Linked DNA regions of Homo sapiens: region 2 is linked to region 1. Evidence: promoter capture Hi-C in 16 types of primary human blood cells and fetal thymus (Javierre and others, 2016). All regions are on one chromosome and are shown on one strand. The core of a region is centred on a gene start or on the middle of the fragment in contact, and the rest is flanking DNA. Distances in the headings are between cores, read along the strand shown.

What was found. The method cuts DNA at HindIII sites, captures the fragments that hold promoters and counts their contacts. A CHiCAGO score of 5 or more calls a contact.
Region 2: a fragment that was not itself captured here is called in contact with the fragment with the promoter of FAM133B in region 1 in 7 of 17 cell types (fetal thymus, total CD4 T cells, naive CD4 T cells and 4 more); the score reaches 8.5 in fetal thymus.

Annotation. Positions count from the first base shown.
Region 1 is chr7:92,588,958-92,591,681 of GRCh38, forward strand. FAM133B (family with sequence similarity 133 member B) reads right to left here and starts at 1,433. Exons shown (of 11, transcript NM_152789.4): 1 at 1,311-1,433. The coding sequence starts at 1,334. RefSeq lists enhancers at 1,161-1,220, 1,311-1,590. The HindIII fragment of the contact is 8,062 bases long and covers 270-2,724 here.
Region 2 is chr7:93,112,037-93,114,825 of GRCh38, forward strand. It overlaps SAMD9 (sterile alpha motif domain containing 9), which reads right to left. Exons shown (of 3, transcript NM_017654.4): 2 at 2,759-2,789. Among named protein-coding and RNA genes, the nearest start is that of SAMD9, 4.5 kb to the right of the region's middle. The HindIII fragment of the contact is 2,912 bases long and covers 59-2,789 here.

The sequences.
Region 1 (2,724 bases), core at 183-2,682:
AAACACTTTTCTTTATAAATTACCCAGCCTCAGGTTTTTCTTTATAAAAGCCATGCAAGAACTGGCTACTACAGATGGCAAGTGTCATCATTTCGTAAATGTTAAGTCTCCTTTGGTGTGAGACACACACAGCTTGCAAATAATTGTTGAATAAAAAAGCGAGTTCAAGAAACGTAGCACATTCGTTTTACGTGCATTTTCCTCATTTTGCTACTCAGTGGCTAAAACTTTGTCACAGGCAAGCCCAGAAATTGTCAGGCTGCAACCTAAGCTTATTGTTATTTCATTATGTTTACTACTCATTCAATCTGATTCATAACCTGAGTTTTTCAGCCCCCTCCCCGCCCCAGCGGTCTAGAATACTTTCCTCCCATCTCCGCTTCTCAAAAGCACCTTTTCTTTTGAATGCCTTTAGAATCTCTAACAACTATCAAGGACCATTTCCTACTCTTTCTGCTGTAAGTTATTTATGCATCTCTTTTATCTCATTCACTAGAGTAATAATTTTCATGCCCAGTACTCGCTCACACATCTTGCCTTTTGTGATTTCAATTAATCTGTAAGGTTGTAGATAATAATGATCCCCTTTTATAAACGACGGCACAGAGAAGAAAAGTAACTTGTTCTAGGTCACCCAACTTCCGACGGAACAAAACTGACATTCCAGTTTTGTGTTGGACTCGAAAGCCAACTATTTTCACGCCATTCATTCCCTCACAGTGTCTATGGGGGCCAGGTCCTACAGGGCGCTGGAGACACGAAAGCAAATGCTGCCATCCCATTTTCAAACGGGAGCCTGCTTGTCGCTAAAACCAGGCGCGCTGCTGGCTCTCCGGCACAGGGACCGCGTCGAGGCCTCTGTGCCTCCCTCCCACTTGGGTGCGCAGGAGAGGGGTGCGGACCTGGGGCGGCCGATACCAAGGGGCGGGTGAGTCGGATGCGTCCAAGGGCCTAAGTCTTCGGAGTTACATGGCGGGGCCAGGTGTGGGGGGGGTTCCCCGAGCCCTCGCGGTTCTAAGTGGGCACTGGGGGCCCGCGTACAGCAGGCAAGAGTGCAAACCAGCAGCGCCAGAAAGAGCGACGAGGTGAGGGAAGAAAAAAGGGGCGGGCAAGAGAGAGCTGGGAACCCTAAAGCGCCAACTGCGTGCGCGGCGCACGCGCATCTGGGATCGGCGGAGGGTGCTGGGTCTCCAGGCCCCACGTCTGAGGGCTGCCGCTTGCCCTCCGGCCCGGCCGGGAACAGCGAGGGTTCTCGCTGTCCTGCCGCCGGGCCCTGCGTCGCCCCACTGTTTTCCCGGCTGAGTACTCACCACCCGATTGTCCCGCTTCCCCATGGTGCTGGATCGAGCGCACAGTAGCACGCCGAGGGAAACCGGGCCGGAGAGACTGCCGAAGAGGGCCTGCCGCAGGTCCTCTTGCCGCCTCCCCACTCCGCCTAGAGAGCGGCACCACGCGGACTCGACGGCCGCGCTCTGCTACAGCGCCCCCTATCTCTGTGGAGGACAGGCCGGCTCCAGAGATCGCTGCAGTTGGCGGAGCGCCTGCAGGAGTCCGGTCGTTCATTAGGCACCCAAGAGCAGGCGACGCTGCGCTTCTGCACCGGAGCCCCACCAAGGCAGCTCGCTTCAGTTTGGCCTTGGATTGTTTTGCTTTCTTCCATTCTTTTTTTTTTTTTTTTTTTTTTTTTTTTTTTTAGACAGACTCTCGCTCCGTCGCCCAGGCTGGAGTGCAGTGGCACGATCTAGGCTCACTGCAGCCTCCACCTCCCGGGTTCAAGCGATTTTCCTGCCTCAGCATCCCGAGTAGCTGAGATTACAGGCGGCCGTCAACACGCCGGGCTAAATTTTTTGTATTTTTAGTAGAGACAGGGTTTTACCACGTTGGCCAGGCTGGTCTATAACTCCTGACCTCAAGTGATCCGCCCGCCTCGACCCAAAGTGCTGGGATTACAGGCATGAGCCACTGCGCTTGGCCTTTCTTCCATTCTTGATACACTGAAATACTCATTCGAGGGGACACAAAGATTCTCCCGATGCTTATTTTGTGCTTGACAGAGTGCAAGTGCTGGGGACAAAGTGAGGACCAAAGAGCCTTGGTCCCTCACGGAGCCCATCAGCTGGTGGGGGGAAAGGCAGTGCTGTCATAGACGCTGCTAACGAAATCACCCTTTAATTTCAATCCCATTCATTCATCACCTGTGCATTCATTTCACACTAATTTTTGAACATGTAGTTTGTACAGTTTTCACTAACTGGGTGGCTGGAAGCTGGAGCTGGGTAGGGCACAAAGATGATTAAGAAAAATCCCTATCGTCAAGGAGCCTGTTTATAAACTCGTAAGGGCAATAAACACACACAGGGCCAACTTTACTGCATAGCATATCGTAATATTGGCACTACTGCACTGCAACTTTAAGGAAGATGATCTGGGCTCCAGAGAAGATAATCATATTTAGTAAGTATTTATAGATAAAGCGACCCCTCTGGGTTCATCTTAGCAAGTATCATTAGGAAGTAGTTGAAAATCAATTAGGATCTTCTCCGGACTCTTGGAAATGGCAAAATGGGAATTACACTAATTACATACAAGAACATGCTTTAAAATCATCTTTCCCGATCTCTGCCTCCCTCCCTCCCTGCATTTTTCATGCTACACTATATGACAGATGCTCCCAACTACCATCTTCTGTCTCAAAACTTTTCCAAACTCTCACATGCAGTCCTT
Region 2 (2,789 bases), core at 265-2,764, 520 kb after region 1:
CATCGATGCAAAAATCCCAATAAAATATTGGCAAACCGAATCCAGCAGCACATCAAAAAGCTTATCCTCCATGATCAAGTGGGCTTCATCACTGGGATGCAAGGCTGGTTCAACATACACAAATCAATAAACGTAATCCATCATATAAACAGAACCAAAGACAAAAACCACATCATTATCTCAATAGATGCAGAAAATGCCTTTGACAAAATTCCACAGCCTTTCATGCTAAAAACTCTCAATAAACTAGGTATTGATGGGACATATCTCAAAATAATAAGAGCTATTTATGACGAACCCACAGCCAATATCATACTGAATGGGCAAAAACTGGAAGCATTCCCTTTGAAAACTGGCACAAGACAGGGATGCCCTTTCTCACCACTCCTATTCAACATAGTGTTGGAAGTTCTGGCCAGGGCAATTAGGCAGGATAAAGAAATAAAGAGTATTCAGTTAGGAAAAGAGGAAGTCAAATTGTCCCTGTTTGCAGATGACATGATTGTATGTTTAGAAAACCCCATCGTCTCAGCCCAAAATCTTAAGCTGATAAGTAGCTTCAGCAAAGTCTCAGGATTCAAAATCAATGTGCAAAAATCACAAGCATTCCTATACAACAATAACAGACAAACAGAGAGCCAAATGATGAGTGAACTCCCATTCACAATTGCTTCAAAGAGAATAAAATACCTAGGAATCCAACTTACAAGGGATGTGAAAGACCTCTTCAAGGAGAACTACAAACTACTGCTCAATGAGATAAAAGAGGACACAAACAAATGAGAGAACATTTCATGCTCATGGATAGGAAGAATCAATATCATGAAAATGGCCATACTGCTCAAGGTAATTTATAGATTCAATGCCATCCCCATCAAGCTACCAATGACTTTCTTCACAGAATTGGAAAAAACTACTTTAAAGTTCATATGGAACCAAAAAAGAGCCCGCGTTGCCAAGTCAATCCCAAGCCAAAAGAACAAAGCTGGAGGCATCATGCTACCTGATTTCAAACTATACTACAAGGCTACAGTAACCAAAACAGCATGGTACTGGTACCAAAACAGAGATATAGACCAATGGAACAGAACAGAGTCCTCAGAAATAATACCACACATCTACAACCATCTGATCTTTGACAAACCTGACAAAAACAAGCAATGGGGAAAGGATTCCCTATTTGATAAATGGTGCTGGGAAAACTGGCTAGCCATATATAGAAAGCTGAAACTGGATCCCTTCCTTACACCTCATACAAAAATTAATTCAAGATGGATTAAAGACTTAAACGTTAGAGCTAAAACCATAAAAACCCTAGAAGGAAACCTAGGCAATACCATTCAGGACATAGGCATGGGCAAGGACTTCATGACTAAAACACCAAAAGCAATGGCAACAAAACCAAAATTGACAAATGGGATCTAGTTAAACTAAAGCACTTCTGCACAGCAAAAGAAACTATCATCAGAGTGAACAGGCAACCTACAGAATGGGAGAAAATTTTTACAATCTACCCATCTGACAAAGGGCTAATATCCGGAATCTATGAAGAACTTAAATTTACAAAAAGAAATCAAGCAACCCCATCAAAAAGTGGGCAAAAGATGAACAGACACTTCTCAAAAGAAGACATTTATGCAGCCAACAGACACATGAAAAAATGTTCATCATCACTGGCCACCAGAGAAATGCAACTCAAAACCACAATGAGATACCATCTCACACCAGTTAGAATGGGGGATCATTAAAAAGTCAGGAAACAACAGGTGCTGGAGAGGATGTGGAAAAATAGGGACACTTTTACACTGTTGGTGGGACTGTAAACTAGTTCAACCATTGTGGAAGACAATGTGGCAATTCCTCAAGGATCTAGAACTAGAAATACCATTTGACCCAGCCATCCCATTACTGGGTATATACCCAAAGGATTATAAATCATGCTGCTATAAAGACACATGCACACGTATGTTTATTGCGGCACTATTCACAATAGCAAAGACTTGGAACCAACCCAAATGTCCATCATTGATAGACTGGATTAAGAAAATGTGGCACATATACACCATGGAATACTATGCAGCCTTAAAAAAGGATGAGTTCATGTCCTTTGTAGGGACATGGATGAAGCTGGAAACCATCATTCTGAGCAAAGTGTTGCCAAGGACAGAAAGTCAAACACCACATGTTCTCACTCACAGGTGGGAACTGAACAATGAGAACACTGGGACACAGGTTGGGGAACATCACACACTGGGGCCTGTTGTGGGGTGGGGGAGGGGGGAGGGATAGCATTAGGAGATATACCTAATGTAAATGACAAGTTAATGGGTGCAGCACACCAACATGGCACATGTATACATATGTAACAAAGCTGCACGTTGTGCACATGTACCCTAGAACTTAAAGTATAGTTTTTTAAAAAAGGAGGAATGACTGAAAATCATGAACCTAATGCCAGTTTAATAAATTGAAAGAAGAATAACAGAATAAAACTGAAATAAGAAGAATGAGAAAAATAAAGATAAGAGCAGGAATTTATAAAGTGGAAAACAAAATGACAAGAGAGACTCAGTGAAGTCCAAGAGCTGTTTAGATAAAAAGTAATAAAATTGACACATCCATGGAATGATTAACCAAAAAATAAAAAAGAAAGGTGGCACAAATAAGCAATATTAGAAACTTTAAAAATGAACCAACTTTAACTGAATAAATTGAAAACTGAGATTAATTGAGCAAATTCTTAAAAAATATAGCTTACCAAACTGACTCTAGAAGAAACCGAAGAAGTC